Linked DNA regions of Homo sapiens: regions 2, 3, 4, 5, 6 and 7 are each linked to region 1. Evidence: promoter capture Hi-C in 16 types of primary human blood cells and fetal thymus (Javierre and others, 2016). All regions are on one chromosome and are shown on one strand. The core of a region is centred on a gene start or on the middle of the fragment in contact, and the rest is flanking DNA. Distances in the headings are between cores, read along the strand shown. Region 1 holds the start of ZNF428 (zinc finger protein 428). Region 2 has its middle 2.6 kb from the start of TEX101. Region 3 holds the start of ZNF283 (zinc finger protein 283). Region 4 has its middle 9.7 kb from the start of KCNN4. Region 5 has its middle 23 kb from the start of LYPD3. Region 6 overlaps LYPD3 (LY6/PLAUR domain containing 3). Region 7 overlaps KCNN4 (potassium calcium-activated channel subfamily N member 4).

Evidence for each region. The method cuts DNA at HindIII sites, captures the fragments that hold promoters and counts their contacts. A CHiCAGO score of 5 or more calls a contact.
Region 2: a contact is called between a fragment that was not itself captured here and the fragment with the promoter of ZNF428 in region 1, in 1 of 17 cell types (total CD8 T cells). The highest score is 5.2, in total CD8 T cells.
Region 3: the fragment with the promoter of ZNF283 here is called in contact with the fragment with the promoter of ZNF428 in region 1 in 15 of 17 cell types (activated CD4 T cells, neutrophils, monocytes and 12 more); the score reaches 23.5 in activated CD4 T cells.
Region 4: a contact is called between a fragment that was not itself captured here and the fragment with the promoter of ZNF428 in region 1, in 10 of 17 cell types (non-activated CD4 T cells, activated CD4 T cells, M2 macrophages and 7 more). The highest score is 8.7, in non-activated CD4 T cells.
Region 5: a fragment that was not itself captured here is called in contact with the fragment with the promoter of ZNF428 in region 1 in 9 of 17 cell types (naive CD8 T cells, activated CD4 T cells, total CD8 T cells and 6 more); the score reaches 10.7 in naive CD8 T cells.
Region 6: a contact is called between a fragment that was not itself captured here and the fragment with the promoter of ZNF428 in region 1, in 11 of 17 cell types (fetal thymus, naive CD8 T cells, activated CD4 T cells and 8 more). The highest score is 12.4, in fetal thymus.
Region 7: a contact is called between a fragment that was not itself captured here and the fragment with the promoter of ZNF428 in region 1, in 11 of 17 cell types (monocytes, non-activated CD4 T cells, activated CD4 T cells and 8 more). The highest score is 9.3, in monocytes.

Annotation. Positions count from the first base shown.
Region 1 is chr19:43,618,297-43,621,026 of GRCh38, forward strand. ZNF428 (zinc finger protein 428) reads right to left here and starts at 1,333. Exons shown (of 3, transcript NM_182498.4): 1 at 1,262-1,333. It overlaps LOC105372411 (a long non-coding RNA gene), which reads left to right and starts at 765. Exons shown (of 4, transcript XR_001753942.2): 1 at 765-1,336. RefSeq lists an enhancer at 692-1,342 and a silencer at 1,147-1,386. The HindIII fragment of the contact is 4,307 bases long and covers 1-2,730 here.
Region 2 is chr19:43,410,957-43,413,686 of GRCh38, forward strand. It overlaps a transcript of TEX101 not described here. Among named protein-coding and RNA genes, the nearest start is that of TEX101, 2.6 kb to the right of the region's middle. RefSeq lists a silencer at 2,135-2,321. The HindIII fragment of the contact is 751 bases long and covers 1,033-1,783 here.
Region 3 is chr19:43,825,899-43,828,628 of GRCh38, forward strand. ZNF283 (zinc finger protein 283) reads left to right here and starts at 1,423. Exons shown (of 7, transcript NM_181845.2): 1 at 1,423-1,546; 2 at 2,304-2,383. RefSeq lists an enhancer at 1,281-1,480. The HindIII fragment of the contact is 6,325 bases long and covers 1-2,730 here.
Region 4 is chr19:43,789,335-43,792,064 of GRCh38, forward strand. No RefSeq gene overlaps it. Among named protein-coding and RNA genes, the nearest start is that of KCNN4, 9.7 kb to the left of the region's middle. The HindIII fragment of the contact is 2,711 bases long and covers 1-2,672 here.
Region 5 is chr19:43,441,043-43,443,772 of GRCh38, forward strand. No RefSeq gene overlaps it. Among named protein-coding and RNA genes, the nearest start is that of LYPD3, 23 kb to the right of the region's middle. The HindIII fragment of the contact is 6,258 bases long and covers 1-2,730 here.
Region 6 is chr19:43,460,601-43,463,330 of GRCh38, forward strand. LYPD3 (LY6/PLAUR domain containing 3) reads right to left here. Exons shown (of 5, transcript NM_014400.3): 4 at 2,526-2,687; 5 at 187-1,247. The coding sequence ends at 751. Among named protein-coding and RNA genes, the nearest start is that of LYPD3, 3.6 kb to the right of the region's middle. RefSeq lists enhancers at 2,537-2,596, 2,627-2,676. The HindIII fragment of the contact is 1,815 bases long and covers 424-2,238 here.
Region 7 is chr19:43,770,363-43,773,092 of GRCh38, forward strand. It overlaps KCNN4 (potassium calcium-activated channel subfamily N member 4), which reads right to left. Exons shown (of 9, transcript NM_002250.3): 4 at 1,638-1,773. Among named protein-coding and RNA genes, the nearest start is that of KCNN4, 9.2 kb to the right of the region's middle. The HindIII fragment of the contact is 1,978 bases long and covers 405-2,382 here.

The sequences.
Region 1 (2,730 bases), core at 83-2,582:
TGCTGGGATTACAGGCGTGAGCCACCGCGCCCAGCCTACTTATTTATATTTTTTAAGAGACAGGGTCTCGCTCAGTTGCCCAGGCTGGAGTGCAGTAGGGTGATCTGTAGGAAAGGGGCTTCCAGGCCTTAACTCATGTACTCCCCCATAACCAGGTTGGGAGGTTAGCTCACTGTAACCTCAAACTCCTGTGCTCAAGGTACCCTACTAGCCCCTAGGAGAGCAGCTGGGACTACAGGTATGCGCCACCATGCCAGGCTTAATTTTTACTTTTTTTTTTTTTTTTTTTTTTTGTAGAGACGGGGGTCTCACTATATTGCCCAGGCTGGTCTTGAACTCCTGGTCTCAAGCGATCCTCCTGCCTTAGCCTCCCAAAGTATTGGTATCACTGCAACTAGCCCAAAGAATTAATATAGCTATGTTCCATGTGATATTTGGGACATACTTTTCTAAAAGGTTGTATCTTTTGGATATAATTGTTTATCTGAAATTCAAATTTAACTAGACATTGTATATTTTATACGGCAACCACACACCTGGGACAATCAAGACATTCCCTGAAGTTACCAGGAGACAATGCCCATCAGCCTACACTTTTCCAAGCCCACGTCACACAAGGCCCCTTCCAGAGTATTCCAGACGTCAGGTAGGGCCATCCCTTGGTTCACAAGTCCCACTCCTACCACGCCTATGGCAGCCAAACTGAAAGGCAAACACAGTGCTGGAGACCCCACAATGCCCTGGGCCTATAGCAGTCAATTCCCAAGATGCCCCGCGTGAACACAATAGGCACCCGTTCCAATGCTCGAGCAAAGAGACCAGGGCAAAACCTTCCACTACGGGACAATAACGGCCAGTTCCCACAATTCGTTGTGGCAGTTCTTCCCAGGATGCCTTAGGCCTATAGCGACCACCTTCCCAGACTCCCCGTGTGGAAGCGCTCCAAGCCTCCAGGACGGTCAGCGGCAGGTGTGGGATAAAAGGAACCGGTCTCGACAAGGATCTGGGACACTCTTTCCCAGGATGCACCAGGCCTACGACTAGCGGACCGACTCCCACAGCGCTTCAAGGCGGAGCGCTCGGTTCTCCCAGGATGCCCCAGGGCGGCACAAACGCGTAGGGGGAGAAAAAGAAGCCCTCGGGTCACCACGGCCCCAGACCGCCGGCTCCCCGGTGACGGGAGTCGTCGCTCCCATCATGCAGCGGGGCCGTAGCGCCCGCTTCCCGGCATGCCTCGCGCACCCCTGCCCGGGACACTCACCGGCGCCGGCGGCCCCCGCTCCGGCTCTGCGGCGGCGGCTGCACGCCCAGCCTCTGCGCCTGCGTCGCAAGTAGGGTAGGACAGCGCGCAGGGGGCGTGAAGAGCCTAGGGCGCTTGCGCGGCGAGACGGACTAGTCCTGTAGCGCTGTGGGAAGAGGGGCTATGCGCGTCGGGCCGTCGACGAGACCCGCGCGGGGGGCGCCGTGCTTTGCCCCTCGCTGCCTGGGTTTACTTGGTACAGCCCGCGGCCCAAAGGAACAAGAAGCTGAAGGGTTCGCGCGTGCGTGTGCGGGGCAGGAACGCGCCTTACAAAACTGGGATGCGCTGGGGGTGGAGGGCGCTAGTTCGGACTGGATCCTGGGCCCGAGGCCTGCTTATTTGCATAATCCTAGCGCGGGACAATGAAAGGCCTCCCGCACTGGAAGGAGTGATTTGCATATTCCCCGGAGGGGCCTTACTCCAGAGCGCAGTGATTAGCATATGGCGGGGGCAACCTGAGCAAAGCGCATGCGCGCAGGGACTGCAGACTGACGCGAAGTGGGTAGCCTTGTCTTCGTAGGGGATCAGTTTGCATCCTGAGAGAGGGCACGAGGGCCAGGACCCCTCCCAACCAGGATAAAGGTTTATTGATCTCCTAGGTGTCAGGCCCCATGCTGGCGGATTCTGTGGTTTCTGCAGTGAACCATACTCCTGTACTCACGGCACCCCAGTCGAAGGAGATACGCACCTAATTAGACAACTACTACCCAGAAGGTCAGACCTGGAGTGAGGAACACAGGGGGCTGTGGGAGCCTAAGAGGCGCTTGCCCCGGCCTCTGGTTCTAGAAAGACTTCCAGGAGGTGGTGATCCTTAAGCCAAGTACGAATAGGAGCCAACTAGAATGGGAATGGGTCTGGCAGAATGAACTGCAAGCGCCAAGGCCCAGAGGCCAAAAAAAAAAAAAAAAAAATAGAAGCGCATGTTTTGATTGAGGAAGCAAGAGCAGCTTAGTATGCCTAGAACCTAACTGGAGACGGGAAATGGTTCTATAGACGATGTTAGAGTTCAACTATGGCTACATTCCAGTCTTCCTGTAAGTGACTTTGTCACATTCTGGCTTAAAACTCCCCCAAAGGGATCCCATTAGGAAAAAAAAAAAATCCAAAAATCTTTATCATGGCCTCAGGGCTATACACCTGGTCTGGCCGTGCTTATCTTTCTGACCCCACCTACTTCCTCCTCCCTCCATTTCTGTCCAGCTCCACCTTACCCCAAACTCTTTACCAGCTCGGGCCTCTGCTCTTGCCGTTCCCTCCGCCTGAAAATGCTTTTCCCTCTGACCTTTGAATACCTACTCTTGTGCTCACCATTCATATCTTGGTACAGATGTCAATCTGAGAGGCTTTTCCTGATCTCTCCATAATAGCACTTACACATTTGACTGGAGTTATGGATAAATCGGGATTGGCCATGAGTTGGTGGTGGTTGT
Region 2 (2,730 bases), core at 158-2,657, 210 kb before region 1:
ACCTCCACCTCCTGGGCTCCAGCGATCCTCCCACCTCAGCCTCCCAAAGTGTTGGGATTACAGGCATGAGCCATGGCACCCAGCCTAGAATCTTACTTGAGGTAAAATGAGAATCCACTGGAAGGTTTTGGTTTTTTTGAAACAGAGTCTTGCTCTGTCACCCAGGCTGCAGTGCAGTAGCACAATCTTGACTCACTGCAGCCTCCACCTCCCAGGTTCAAATGATTCTCTCGCTGCAGCATCCAGAGTAGCTGGGATTACAGGGGCGCACCACCACGCCCAGCTAATTTTTTCATTTTTAGTGGAGACAGGGTTTCACCATGTTGGCCAGGCTGGTCTCGAACTCCTGATCTCAGGTGATCCACCACCTCGGCCTCCCAAAGTGCTGGGATTACAGGCCTGAGCCACCGTGCCTGGCCCATTAGAAAGTTTTAAACAGGAGTAATGTGGTGTGGCTTGCAATTAAGAGATCGCTCTGGTGCCAGGTGGGAAATAGCCACATGGGCAAGGGCAGGGCGTACTGCAATAATCCAGTGACCAATGGTGGTGTCACAAGTGCTTATATAAAAAGATGCCTTCACTGTATATTAGCCATTGAGCTTTTTTCTTTTTTACAAACGTTCCATGGATTCATAAACTATTTGCCAACCATTGCTCTAGACTAACCTCCTCATTTTCTTTTTTTTCTTTTTTTTCTTTTTTTTTGAGACCAAGACCAAGTTTTGCTCTTGTTGCCCAGGCTGGAGTGCAATGGTGCAGTCTCAGCTCACTGCAACCTCCGCCTCCCAGGTTCAAGTGATTCTCCTGCCTCAGCCTCCCAAGTAGCTGGGATTACAGGCGCGTGCCACCAGGCCTGGCTAATTTTTGTATTTTTAGCAGAGACAGGGTTTCACCGTGTTGGTGAAGGTCAGGCTGGTCTCAAACTCCTGACCTCAGGTGAACCACCCACCTTGGCCTCCCAAAGTGCTGGGATTATGGGCTTGAGCCACTGCACCCAGCCTAACCTCTTCATTTTCTAGATGAGGACACTGAAGCTTGGAGAGGAACAGAAATTGGCTCAGGCTAAGGAAGATCTGTCAATCTCTCTTGCACCAAAAAGGCAAAGCCACCTTTCTCAAGGGGCTGTGTATTGGGGTGTTCTTGCACTGCTATAAAGAAATACCTGAGACTAGAAGTAATTTATAAGAAAAGAGGTTTGATTGGCTCAAGGTTCTGCAGCTGTACAGGAAGCGTGGTGCCAGCATCTCCTTCTGGGGAGGCCTCAGAGAGCTTTTACTTATGGCAAAAGGATGCAGGCCAGAGAAGGGGAGCGAGAGAGAGTAAGAAGGGGAGGTGCCACACACTTAAACAACCAGATCTGGCAAGGACTCACTCATCATTGCAAGGACAGCACCAAGTCATGAAGGATCTGCCCCCATAACCCAAACACCTTCCACCAGGTCGCATCTCCAACACTGGGAATTACATTTCAACATGAGATTTGGGCGGGGGACAAATATCCAAACTATGTCACGGAGCAAGAGGAGGTCCCTGGAGCTGTTGAAGCAGAAATGGGGTGAAGAATAGAGGTGGAGGGTGCTTAGGCTTCCAAGGTCTCTTCTAGGTGTGAGATGGAGGGATTCTGCGACCAAGTCACCTGGAGAGTGACTCAACAAGGTGACTGCTTTCCCAAGCACGAGCCCTCGGGGGACAGACGGGGGCTGAAAACTGGCACACATTCTTCCTGGATCCTTTGACATGTGATCATTCAAAGATAACAGTTCAAAGATAACAAAGGGATTGAAGCTTTACCAATCCCTTTCTTATTGTGGCATTTTCTCTATTAAAAATAAATACTCATTTATACTATAACTTACAGAATCAGTACCAATTCTGAAAGTATACAAAGCGTTGCCTTACTTTAAGGAAGGAGACCACTACTACTCCTGCTGCCCTCCTCCCCCGACCTTGCCTAGTTCACAAGACAGGAGGAAAGAGAGAAAGCAAAAAGTTGGAAAGAAACAGAAGTAAGATAAATAGCCAGTCAACCTTGGCACCACCACCCAGCCCTAGGAGTTAAAAAAAGTAATAATAATAACAGCAACCCCTGACCTAAACTACTTGTGTTATCTGTAAGTTCCAGACATTATATGAAAAAGCATTGCAAAACTTTCTGTTCTGTTACCTGATGCATGTAGCCCCCAGTCACGTTTCCCACGCTTGCTCGATTTATCACGACCCTTTCATGTGGACCCCTCGAAGTTGTAAGCCTTTAAAAAGGCCAAGAATTGGCCAGGCGTGGTGGCTCATGCCTGTAATCCCAGCACTTTGGGGGGCGGGCGGATCACGAGGTCAGGAGATCGAGACCATCCTGGCTAACACAGTGAAACCCCATCTCTACTAAAAATACAAAAAAATTAGCCGGGTGTGGTGGTGGGTGACTGTAGTCCCAGCTACTCGGGAGGCGGAGGCAGGAGAATGGCATGAAGTCGGGAGGCAGAGCTTGCAGTGAGCCGAGATTGCACCACTGCACTCCAGCCTGGGCAACAGAGGGAGACTCCAAAAAAAAAAAAAAAGGCCAAGAATTTATTTTTCAGGGAGCTCGGCTCTTAAGACGCAAGTCTGCTGAGGCTCCCGGCCAAATAAACCTCTTCCTTCTTTAATCCAGTATCTGAGGAGTTTTGTCTGCAGCTCATCCTGCTACAACTTCATGTCACACCTGGAAAGCTTACATAGGCCAGGGGTGGTGGC
Region 3 (2,730 bases), core at 173-2,672, 210 kb after region 1:
GTTTCCCAAAAACCTATGGAAATAAAAAATTAAAAAAAAATCAGACCCCCAAAATATTCAGAGTAGTACTTGTGGGAGTCATTGAGCAAGTAACATGGGAAGAGAGGAGGCTGCTTCCACCAGTGGTTTTGGAGGTGGAGCAGATGCTGATGATAATGAAGTCCCAGATGGGAAACGGGGATGGGTGCCGAGGAAAGCTCAAGGACCCTGCAGATGAGGACTCAGACCCACGATACTGGATGAGGCATCCATGTCACCATGGGAGTCAACCAGGGTAGTGGCCTCAGCTGAGGCAGGGGAAAAGCTGGGATCCAAGAGCTCTAGTCTTCTCTTGATAAGCAAGAGAGACCAGGAGGTGAGAGATGGCAGAGGATGAGAGAGGTGATATCAGTGACCAGAAAGAGCCCCTAAAAAGTAACTTCCTTTTCTTTCTGTTAGTTTTAATATAAAATTTCGCTTTAATATTTTTAGACAATTCTTTTTTAAAAAAGTATTTATATCCAAAGGTTCTTACCACACCAACCACAGCCCCAATCTTTTTGCCCTAACCTCAGAATCAGTTAGTTGTCTCCTTTAAAACCTTTCTCTCTCTCACACACCCACACACACACACACGCAAACACACAGGAGAGAGAGAGAGGGAATATATAGTATTGTTTTTGGAGTATGAGTGTGTGCTTCAGAATAAATGGTTTCATACTCTATAAAAAATGAGATTCAAATTTTATAATCCATCAAGTTTTATTGGAACACAGCCATGCTGGATTGCTTGTGCATTGTTTATGGCCGCCTTTGCACTGCCATAAGTCTCCACGGTCACAATATCCACTCACTACCACTTATTGTTGTCTTTCAACAGCGGCATATAAAATCTGTAACACAGTTCATCTCACACCTAATAAAACAGACTCACACAGGCATAAATTTAGAAAACATCCCATGAACATAAACAGGTCCACGCAGGGTCCCAGACACCGAATCGAACTAAGAAACTCCCTCACAGCAAGACACACCCATCTGTTCAATTGCCAGACACTGTTCCAGGCGCTCATACCCAGGTAAACTGGTAGTGTCGCGCAGGTCATTTCCAGCGAACTTACCCCGGATTCCCTTGCTCGCTCACGTCTAAGTCCCCAGACACCCCAGTCCCATCTTCGCCTGTTCTAGACTCCAGAATGCGTTCCTTAGCGAAAGCTGAGAACCTTTTAATTCGCTCTCAGTCAACACCAAAGACCCTCAAGCAAAAGCAAGAGCTCCCGGGCGTCTTCGAAAAAAGCGCCTTTGACAGGTGAAGCCAAGTTGCATGCTGGGAGCATCCCTGCTGTCCAGGTTTCAACTTCCGGAGACTCTGCCGCTGTGGACTACATTTCCCAGAAGTCTCCGGGGCACAGGCCTTTTAGGGGCGGGGCGAGCTTGCCTGCCAGAAGCTCCTCTCCCAGCCTGCGAGCATTTCCAGGCTCTTGTTTCCCATCAGCCTCTGGGTCCAAACTAACCACAGGTCTCTGGGTCCTTTTCCGGTGTCCTTAAGGTTCTTGGACTCTGCATGGTGAGTTGGTCGTGTCTGTAGAAGTAATCAGCCCGGGTGAAGCTGGGAGGGCTCGGCTGGCTTTACTGGGGCCCGACTGGAACCGGCAGTGAGGGTGGGGGTGGCATCGGGGGTGCTGGAGGTGGGGAGGGCTGGGTCACGGACAGAGCGTGTCGTGTCCGGATCCTCAAGCCTGTGTGCACGCGAGCAGCCGAGGGACAGTGTGTCTCAGACGGCGTGGCAGGGACGGGGCGTGTCCCCACGGAGGTGGGTGCAGTTGTGAATGTGTGACGGGCTGACAGGGTGCGTGGCCGTATTTGTAAATGTGATTTGCTTTGACCAAATGCTCTAGGTTCCCTTTAGCCTGTCTTCGGGCCTGCCACAATTAAATGACCGCAAGAAAGAAGTCTATGCTAAGCCCCATAATGAACGTTTCAAGCAAGAAGGATGAGAATTTTAGATCTGGAAGTGTCCGCGGGACAGGATCTTGTCAAGACCTGATGGGGAAGTTCTAGAGGTGGGATTCCTAGAAGAGGGGCCTCTAGGAGCTCTTTGGTGGTGAGCTACATGTTTCAGAGCCATTGCAAGCAGACCTCTGTCCCCAAGAATTGCCCTCAACACAGAGACAGACTCTAGCCTCCCTTTTCATTCCGTTTGGTTTTGTGTGGATGAAGGCAGAAGTGGCCCCAGAGGGTGTTTTGCTCTTCTTTTTCTTTTTTAATTAAGTCTGTGACGCGCTAGAAATGCTGATGTCTCATGTTACTGTTTTTTCCCCCAGTGCTGCCAGGTTGCCAGATTTCTAAGAAGGAGTTTGAAGAGGAGAAAAGGATTTTTGCATGTTTAGAAATCAAGGTTCAGGTGAGGTTTTTTATACATACTTTTTAAATACATACACATACAATTACCTTTGCTTCTAGGTCATGAGAACATTTTCTTTCCTTGGCCTGAAATATCTTGACTGGGTTTTCCCAGTTACATGACCCGCCATGCTGGTACATATTTCCTCCCAGTGGCCCCCTATTGTTCTTCTCCACAATTCTTACCCACCTGTTCATATGGCAAATTGTTCAAATACTTCAGTGCATTATGATGCACTGAAGAGTTATAGAAAGGCACCTCTTGTAGATTGCTATTAGAGCATTATTTTATACTATGATTATTTGAAGAGATTAGTAATTAGGTGGTGTTATATAAACATTATTTTT
Region 4 (2,730 bases), core at 67-2,566, 170 kb after region 1:
TGTATGTAAAATCCAGACATTAAATAATCATTATCTGCATTACCAGAAGAAGAGAGATGTCTGGGTTCCCAAGTGGGTGTATGGGTCACTGTGAGTTAAATAGGTATTAGTTCTATCTATTATCTACCTTTTCATATATACATACATATTCATATATGTGTACATATATATTTATTATCGAGAACTTCAAACATATAGAAGTGAACAGAAGAGTATAATAAATCTCCATGTATCTATTTAACAAATACCAATTCGTGGTCAATTGCATTTCATCTGTGCTTCCATTTACTTCCTCACTTCCTATGTTATTTCAGTGTAAAACCTAGAGGTAATACCATTTAATCATATGTGGCATTTAAAATTGTTTTCTTTTTCTTTTTAGAGGCAGGGTCTCACTCTGTCACCCAGGCTGAGTGCAGCGGCCCAATCATAGCTCACTGCAGCCTCGACCTCCTGCCCCCAAGAGATCCTCCTGCATCAGCCTTCCAGGTAGCTGGGACTACAGGCGCACACCACTGCACCTAGTTACTTTTAAAATTTTTAGTAAAGACAGGGTCTCTCTATGTTGGCCAGGCTGGTCCTGAACTCCTGGCTTCAAGCAATTTTCCTACCTCGACCTCCCAAAGTGCTGGGATTACAGGCGTGAGCCACCAGGACTGACCTAAGACAGACTTACACATTGCAAGTCCGCAGATCTTAAGTGTATGGATTAATTCAGTTAAACCTGTATACAGACATGTGTGACCACCATCTCTATCAAGCTATCTCCATCACCACAAGAGGCTCTCTTGTAACCCTCCCAACTGATACACCAGAGATAACCAGTATTCTGAATCCCTATCACCAAAGATTAAAAAGCTCTAATATGGATGTCCAAAGACCTGAGCTCTAGCCATGTCTTTGCTTTTGACATTAAAAAAAAAATAGGTCTGGCGCGGTGGCTCAAGCCTGTAATCCTAGCACTTTGGGAGGCCGAGGCAGGTAGATCATGAGGTCAGGAGATCGAGAACACCCTGGCTAACACGGTGAAACCCCGTCTCTACTAAAAATACAAAAAAAAAATTAGCCGGGCATGGTGGTGGGCGCCTATAGTCCCAGCTACTCGGGAGGCTGAGGCAGGAGAATGGCGTAAACCCAGGAGGCGGAGCTTGCAGTGAGCCAAGATTGTGCCACTGCACTCCAGCCTGGGCGACAGAGCGAGACTCTGTCTCAAAAAATAAAAACAACAAAAACAAATAAATAAATAAAATATACCTTATATGCCAAAAGTGCATAAAACATAGTGGTACATTTTGGACAAATGATGTATTGTGAACCTCCATAAAATCAAAGGCACACCAAGAGAAAGTATTTGCATTCCCTAGAATCTCCTTATGTGCTCCTTTATGATCGGGAACCCCCAACCTCCAGAGGAAACCACTACCCTCACTTAGAAGGGACTTTAACTCCTCGTAGACCATAACACTCACACTCTGGTTTCTCAGTTCCTCCTTCTGCCTCCAGCCTTTTAATCCTAAATTGCCCTTGACTCTGGAAACCAGGCAGCATGAGAGGCCCTCTCACCATCCACCTCCCTGGTCTCCCTGCCTCCAATCTCACTCCCTCGGGCCTGTCTCCTGCATGGCCACAGGGAGAGCCTCATATCACCTGGCTTTGACCATGCCTCGCCCCTTCTCTATATCAGTCCATGTATCCCCATTGGCTGTAGGAGAAAGTTCAGAAAATGTTATCCCTATTTGACATTGTAAGCCCTTCAGGGGCACTGCCACATCTTCATTCACATCTTCTTCACTTAAAAAAAAATAGAGACAGTGTCTTACTCTGTTGCCCAGGCTGGAGTGCAATGGAGCGATCATAGCTCACTGCAACCTCAAATACCTGGGCTCAAGCAATCCTCCCACCTCAGCCTCTCTAGTAGGTGAGACCACAGGCATGCACCATCATGCCCCACTAATATTTTTAGTTTTTTGTAGAGATAAGGTCTCACCATGTTGCCCAGGTTGGTTTCAAAGTCCTGGGCTCAAGTGTTCCTTCTACCTTGGCCTCCCAAAGTGCGGGGATTACAGGAGTGAGCCACTGCTTCTGGCTTTCCTCACACTTTAAACACAGGTAGGTACTGAAAAATAGTTTTTCAAAGTGGTTGTTCTATTTTACACACATACTACTTGGATGTGAGAATCCCAGTAGCTCCACATCCTTGCTAATAAATGAAGCCTTTTATTTTACTTTTTTTTCTTTTTTTGAGATGGAGTCTCACTCTGTCGCCCAGGCTGGAGTGCAGTGGCGCAATCTCGGCTCCCTGCAAGCTCTGCCTTCCAGGTTCACACCATTCTCCTGCCTCAGCCTCCCATGTAGCTGGGACTACAGGCACCTGCCACCACGCCTGGCTAATTTTTTGTATTTTTAGTAGAGACAGAGTTTCACCATGTTAGCCAGGATGGTCTTGATCTCCTGACCTCGTGATCCGCCCGCCTCGGCCTCCCAAAGTGCTGGGATTACAGGCGTGAGCCACTGTGCCCAGCCTATTTTACTTTTAATTAAATTGTTTAGAGAGACGGGGTCTTGCTACATTGCCCAGGCTAGTCTCGCACTCCTGGGCTAAAGCAATCCTTCTGCCTCTGCCTCCAAAATTGCTGGGATTACAGGTGTGAGCCACTGTTTCCAGCAGGTGAAGCTTTTATTAGGTGAGTGCAAAAGTAATTGCGATTTTTGCATTGTTGGAATTTGCCA
Region 5 (2,730 bases), core at 144-2,643, 180 kb before region 1:
CCTCCAGAGTAGCTGGGATTACAGGCATGCACCACCATGCCCGGCTAATTTTTTGTATTTTTAGTAGAGACAGGGTTTTGCCATATTGCCCAGGCTGGTCTCGAACTCCTGAACGCAAGTACTCCACCCACCTCAGCCTCCCAAAGTGCTGAGATTACAGGCGTGAGCCACCGTGTCCAGCCATTTTTTTTTTTAAGGCAGGGTCTTGCTCTATCGCCCAGGCTGGAGTATAGTGGCACAATCATGGCTCACTGCAGCCTCAACCTCCTGGGCTCAAGCTATTCTCCTGTCTTAGCCTCCCACGTAGCTGAGACTACAGGCACAGGCCACTCCTAGCTTGGAGTGTGGATTTTATTGTGATTAAATTAGTTGTCAACCTAGATAACAAACAGCGAGAGGCTCTCTAAAAGAAACAAAAATTGGTTGGGCGAGGTGGCTCACGTCTGTAATCCTAGCACTTTGGGAGGCCGAGGCGGGTGGATCACTTGAGGTCAGGAGTTCGAGACGAACCTGACCAACATGGCAAAGCCTCATCTCTACTAAAAATACAAAAATTAGCCAGGCATCATGGCAGGTGCATGTAATCCCAGCTGCTAGGGAGGCCAAGGCAGGAGAATCAGTTGAACCCGGGGGGTGGAGGTTGCAGTGAGCCAAGTTCATGCCACTGCACTCCAGCATGGGCGAAAGAGTGAAACTACATCTCAAAAAAAAAAAAAAAGTTTATTCAAGAACAGAGAATTGCAATGGGAATAGGAGTGTTATACATATTCAAGGAGGTCAAAGAAGACAAAGGTTTTTAAAGAAAAAAAATGAGGAGAATTACATAATGGTTTTGAAATAATCATCTTTGGCTAGAAAAATGAATCACAAAGATGATGCCAGTCTGGGGTTGGACAGGCAGTTGCTGGGCAAACGTCCTTGCAGAAGTATTTTTCTGTGTAAGTTTGCAATGGTCTTTGTGTGAGATTGTGTTTTTTGCAGTTTTTTTGTGATAGTTTTTGTGATCAGTCATACAAGTATGAGAACCCTCTCTCCATGGCTTTCCTTCACTCTGTTGGTCGGAGCTTTTTTTTCTTTTTCTTTTTTTTAACATGAGTGACTCCATTTTGATTCTGATAACCTTCAAAAGTTCATATGTGCCTGGGTCATGGGGACTGCTTAGTAAATGCTAGCTTTCACTTTACTATTGGAATTTTTACCTCCAAAATGCAGCATCTCCCCATTCCAAGGTCCTAAGTAGAATGGAAGAGGAGATGCCAGGGAATCTTGACAAGGGAAACTTTCACGGTTGACTCTACATTTGAATTTCTATAGCAGGATTAAGTCTGTGTATTATTTACGTGATTTAAAAAGGCCGAGTGTGGTGGCTCACGCCTGTAATTCCAGGACTTTGGGAGGCTGAGGCAGGTGGATCACCTGAGGTCAGGAATTTGAGACCAGCCTGGTCAACATATAATGAAACCCCATCTCTACTACGAATATAAAAATTAGCCAGGCATGGTGGCATACACCTGTAATCCCAGCTACTCAGGAGGCTGAGGCAAGAGAATTGTTTGAACCTGGGAGGCAGAGGTTGCAGTGAGCCAAGATGGCACCACTGCACTCCAGCCTGGTGACAGAGCGAGACTCTGTCTCAAAAAAAAAAAAAAAAAATCTAAAAATTAGCTAGGCATGGTGGTGCACACTTGTGGTCCCAGCTACTTGGAAAACTAAGGCAGAAGGATCGCCTAAGCCTAGGAGGTCAAGGCTGCCATGAGCTGCGATCACACCACTGCACCCCAGGCTGGGTGACAGAGCAAGACCCCCTCTCACAAAAAAATTTTTAAAAAGATAATGTTAAATATATGTTAGTAGATAAATGTTCACAAAAATCATTAGTGTTGAAGGAAGTGAGGAAAAGATTAAAGGGTGTATTAGTCCATTCTCACACTGCTATAAAGATACTACCTGCTATAAAGATACTGGCCAGACAAGGTGGCTCATGCCTGTAATCCCTACTCTTTGGGAGGCTGAGGTGGGTAGATCACCCGATGTCAGGAGTTCAAGACCAGCCTGGCTAACATGATGAAAACCCGTCTCTACTAAAAATACAAAAAAAAAAAAAAAGTCAGGCATGGTGGCAGGCACCTGTAATCAGCTACTCAGGAGGCTGAGGCAGGAGAATCACTTGAATCCAGGAGACAGAGGTTGTGAGCCGAGATCGCACTACTGCACTCCAGCCTGGGCAACAAGAGGGAAACTCTGTCTCAAAAAAAAAGATACTACCTGAGACTGGGTAATTTATAAACAAAAGAGGTTTAATTGACCTGCAGTTCCACATTGCTGAGGAAGCCTCAGGAAACTTACACTCATGGCGGAAGGGGAAGGGGAAGCAAGCACCTTCTTCACAAGGTGGCAGGAGAGACAGTGCAGGGGAAACGGCCACTTATAAACCATCAGATCTCATGAGAACTGCATGGGGGAACCACCCCCAAGATCGAATCACCTCCCACCAGGTCCCTCCCTCCACATGTGGGGATTACAATTTGAGATGAGGTTTTGGGGGGACACAGAGCCAAACCATATCACCAGGGTTAAGATTTATAAATTGCTCTGTGAACCCCGAAAATCTGAGACAGGTCTCAGTTAATTCAGAAAGTTAATTAGGAGACCAAGGTTGAGAATGCACGCACATGACACAGCCTCAGGAGGTCCTGATGACACGTGCCCAAGGTGGTAGGGGCACAGCTT
Region 6 (2,730 bases), core at 81-2,580, 160 kb before region 1:
TCTCCCCCTCACCAGTGGGACCACCCACATGCAGGATAGACCCAGGAGATTAAAGTTCAACCGTGACTTCCCCCAGGACTGCGGCTCTAGGTCCCATATCTCTCCCGTTAAAGGCTTTATGATGCCCACCCTAGCTCAGCTAGAGCGGTTATTGCGAGAAACAAGGTGGAAGTGACTCCTTTAAAGCACTATACAAAGTAATTAAATCTTTATTGAGGCATTTATGTGCCAGAAACTGATCACACACAGACATAAGGCACGGTCCCTGCCCTCGAGGAGCTCACAGTCTAGTAAGGAAGACATATGGGGAACCGATTCCCCAAAGATGCGGGGAGTAGGGGAGGCAGTGCTTAGAGTGGGGAGCCATTGTCCCACCCACCCCACGCTCCAAAGTCCAGGCTGGCTAGGAGAAAGTGAGTAGGAAGCTTAGCATCCTCTCTCTCACCTTCCCCGTGACAGCTGACTTCTCTCACTCTGTCCTAACATCACAAGAGGACAAGCGGAGAGACAAGGATGAGAAGGATACAGGAGCTGTCCTCAAAAAGCTAGAACACCCCTGGCAGAATATATACAACGGTATTTTATTTCCCAAAGCCGCAAACCAGCGCAGCAGAAGCTGGGGATACTGGGGAATGTTGGAAAAACAGGGGCTGGGCCAGCCCAGTCCAGTGGTGGGAACAGGAAGTGATGAGAAGAGGGGTACCCAGGGCCAGAGAAGTAGGTGAGAGGGAAATTTCCAGGTGGAGAAGCTCACAGTAGGACACCAGCAGCCACGGCCAACAGAAGGGCTGCCAATCCAGCTGTGGGAGCCACACAGCCTTTATTATGGGGCTGCTGGGGCCCCCCTTTTGCAGGATACTGCCCTGAATTGCTGCGGTCCTGGTGGCCAGCGGCGCCTCCAGTCAACCTGGGCTCCTCATCCCGGGAGGCCTCGTGTTCTACTCCCTGTCTCGGAGTCTGACTGGTTGGCGCTGGCATGGGTTTGGTGGTGGATGTGGGTCTCACTGGGGCCGAGGTAGAAGTGGTGACAGATGTGGTTGAGGCCACAGTCGTGGGCTCTGGAGGGGGCAGCCGGACAAGGGGTGGGATTCGAGGGGAGAAGTAGGTCTTGTTGCGGAGGTCAGAGTTACAGCGGGACCCCTGGCAACAGGAGCCACTGAGCGTGAACCCTGGGCCTGTTACTCCATCCCGAGTGCAGAATTCATCCTGGACACAGCCCCGGACAGGCAAGGACACAGTCACATTAGCTGCAGGAAGGAGACACAGATAGGTCAGTGGCTGGAGGGAGAGAGGTTGACATGGCCAGAACAAAACTTAGAGGCATCAGACAAGAACAGAGAACCTGACCGGGCGTGGTGGCTCACGCCTGTAATCCCAGCACTTTGGGAAGCCGAGGCAGGTGGATCACTGGGCAACAGAGTGAGACTCTGTCTTGCAAAAAAAAAAAAGAACAGAGAACCCCCAAAATGAGACAGAAAGTCTCTGCATCCATTAATCCCAAAATCTCAACTCAGGTCCTACTATGAGAAACAGACAGACTCACTGTCTTTGGCACATGGTGGATTAACATTTTCCATTGTGCTTTGAATGGAAATGTGTGTAGGCTGAACCAAAAGTAGGGTTTAAAACAAAGGCTTAGACTGAGATACAAGACCTCTCACAAGACCACAGTGCAGAACAAACTTCCTCTACAACCCTCTCACCATTATCCCCTTAGCCTTCACCCTGGCTTTTACCTCCCCATCAGAATTTACTCTTAGAGTCAGAGTTACATCTCCACACCAGGCTCAGTGGTTCACGGCTGTAATCCCAGCACTCTGGGAGACCTAGGCAGGGGGATCTCTTAGCCCAAGAGTTCAATACCAGCCTGGGTAACATGGCAAGACCCCACTGTTACCAAAAATAAAAGGAACCAGTCGTGGCGGTGCACCCTGTAGTCCCAGCTACTTGGGAGGCTGAGGCGGGAGGACTGCTTGAGCCCAAGAGGTAGAGGCTGCAGTGAGCTATGATTGCGCCACTACACTCCAGGCTAGGCGATAGAGCAAGATGCTGTCTTTAAAAAAAAATAGTAATAATAAAATAAAAAAGAACTACATCTTCCATAGCATAACTGGCAGGGGATGGGATTTGAAGAACTTCATTTTCCATGGTTACATTTCTCAATAGTCTGGGACAGGCGGGGGACCCCTTGAGTTTTAAGGGCTAAGAACTAGAGATTCCCCGCAGTGCCTGGGCAGAAGCTTAGAGGCTTAAATACCTCTTAAGTACCTGGCAGCCCTCTATGGAAATGCATTTCCCTCCAAAACACTCTGGGACAAAGCATCACTATCCCCACACTATTAATATGTTGGGGGAAGGGACTGCATTTTCCATGATGCCCTACGATACAAGCACCTAGGCCCCACGATTCCCAGAATGCGTCGCAGGTTAAGGAAACGCTTTGGGTAAAGGGCTCCCTACCGCCCAGGGTGCTTCAGAAGGGCTACCACAACTCCCGTAGGTCCCGTGCTCCGGGGCTCCCTCACCTGCCGTCAAGGTGACGTTGCCGTCGAAGCAGCCCTTGTAGACATGATCGCTGGCGTTGTAGCAGCTCACGACCGGCGGCGATGTACCCTGGCACGCCTCCCGGCTCAGGCCCACACAGCTGTAGCACTCCACGCCGTTGGGCGGGTATGCACTCTCATTACCTGCGAGGGGAGCCGAGAGGAAGAAAAGGTGTCGAAAGGGTTC
Region 7 (2,730 bases), core at 144-2,643, 150 kb after region 1:
AGCCCTGGCTCCATGCTGCCTGCCCTCCCTGAGCACCTTCCTCCGAACACTCATTCTCCTCCCTTCCTTCTCCCAATGCTCCTGGCCCTTCAAGGCCTTGGCAATTCCTAGCTGCTTGTGGCATCTGCTCACCTGTCCCCAAGTTAGAAGGAATCTTCCTAGGAAGCATCCCCAACCCTATAGTTTCAGCTCTTGATCACTCAGAACAACTTCCAGTCACAAACGCTGGCTCCAGGGGACTGCCTGGGTTCCAAGCCCAGCTCTGAGCAAGTTATTTAATCTCTCAGTATTTCAGTGTCTCATCTGTGAAATGGCCTCACAGGGTTACTAGGTGGATTTCATGAATTACCCCTGGCAAGTGTGTAGGGCAGAGACTGGCACAGAGTATGTGCTCCGGAAAAGTAAGCTTTTATGGCCCAACCATGCCATGGAGCCTTTCTTCCAGGAGCAGGCTGTGAGCTCAAGTGCACATCACCCTATCTCTCTAGGTTTCTGTTTCTCCTTTTGTCAAATGAGGGAGGAGGTCCTGAGCGGTGCTGCAGGTCCCTAACTGAGTCTCTGCCCCTCTTCCCTTGCTCCAAAGACTCACCACTGGGGGAGTGGAGGTCACCACATCCTTCACCTGTGCACCTAGGGATTGGGGGATGAATATGTCCTTCCTAGGCCCACATCTGGGCTAGGTGCTGGTGGCTTAGGTCCCCGAGGGTGAGGGGAACCCGATCTTGTAGGGAGGTGAAGGCCAAGGCATTAGGTGCTAGTCTCTAGAGGGGGCCAGGGCTGGGTGGGAGGACCTGAGTGACTGGGTCTATGGAGGGAAGGAGGTGGATGTCAGGGTTCAGGAAGAGGCTGACTCAGGCTGCAGAGCCTCTGCCTCATCCTTGAGGGCAACAGGAGCTGGTGTGGGGTGGCTGGATGCCTGGCCACCCCTAGACCTGTTTACTGAGCACCTCCTGTGGGCTGGGCACTGTTGGAAGCACTTTACGTAGTTGGACCCATTTAATCATCTCAGCAAGCCCATGAGGAGCATCAGCATCCCCATTTTATAGATGAGGAAAGTGAGGCCCCGAGAGATCACGTGGCTCGCCTGAGCTCCCCAGCCAGGAAGTGGCAGCCGCAGGATTCGGACCCAGGTAGCCTGGCCCCACAGGTATGCACTTGATAACTGGACTCTACACCCTTGATGGAGGCTGGGAGACGATTTCCCAGTTCTGGAAGAAAATGGGGCTGCGAAGTCAGGAGCCTGGGTCCCTGAGGAGGATAAGGGCTGGGGCCCTAGGTTCTAGAGAGAGCAAGGACTTAGGGGCTGGATTCCTAGGTCTGATTTTTTATTTTATTTTTTAAGAGACAGGGTCTCACTCTGCCACCCAGGCTGGAGTGCAGCAGTATGATCATAGCTCACTGTACCCTCAAACTCTTGGGCTCAAGTGATCCTCCCACCTTGGCCTCCCAAAATATTGGGATTACAGGTGAGTATCTTGTTCTTGAAGAGAGAATGGGGCTCTGGGGGCCCCAGACACTCAAGTTTCTCAGGAGCTGTCCCTGAGAGCCTGTGTTGAACCCATTTAATCATGGCTTCCTGGGGCCAGAGGATGACCAGTTTGGGATAGGGATCATGTCCCCAAGGCAGCTGTACTCACCATGACTCCAGTGCACAGGCAGACGATCTTGCCCCACATGGTGCCCGGCACCACGTCACCATAGCCGATGGTCAGGAATGTGATGGGGATCAGCCAAAGTGTGTCTGAAAGGTGCCCAGTGGCATTAACAGCCTGCCTATGGGGAAGGGTAGGTTAGTTCTAAAACCCCACCATAGAGGTTTCCATGATATTCACTCCCCTTCCCTCTATACCCTCCCATCCCCTTCCCTCTGGTTCCCTCCCTTCCCCTCCCAGTATACACCCATAGTCCTAAGAATCACCTGGACAAAAAGCCATTAAGTTCTGAGCTTTGGAAAGCCTGCATGGCCTCCTCTCTGCTGTGTGACCTGGGCAAGTTGCTTAGCCACTCTGGGATTTGAGACTGGGTCTGGCCAATCCCAATGCCGGTATGGTCTCAGCTAGGCTACCCGGGCTGCTGTAGCATTCAGAGCGTGTGGTTGAGGGTGGAGAGTCGATAGGGGGCCAAAACCCAGTCAGACCCTGACTGGTGGCTACATCCACCCAGAGGAAGGGGTATATTTTTCTAATTTCCACAAAGATGCTGTGTGGTCCAGAAGTGGCCCTATCAGGACCAAAAAGGACTCTAAAAAGGCTTGGTGGGACTCGGCCTTCCTTTCCTCTCACTTCACAGAGGAGACATTTAAGTCCAGCCATGGAAGGGGTTGAAACATTGAGATTTGTCTAACTTTGTCCACAGGCCCCTTGCCGCAAGACCAGCAGGGAAAGCTTCATTCATGAGGGCCCCTGACACCCCAGACCCACCGGGTTGGAGTTTCTAGGAGCGAAGATGGAATCTGTACTGTTCACAAACCCCACCCCCTCATTCCGAAGTACATTCTAGTTTCAGGACTTCTGCCTTGGAATGTGGAACTTTGACTTCCTCCCCATTCTCCCATCATTCAATTGAGAAACATGGTGGGGGGATCATTCATTAATCCTGATTCTGACCAATTTCCCAATTGTGAAAACTAAGATCCTGGAAGGTGAAGGAGTTTAAACTCATGACAGAGGGCGGGCATGGTAATCCCAGCACTTTGGGAGGCTTAGGCAGGAGGATCACTTGAAATCAAGA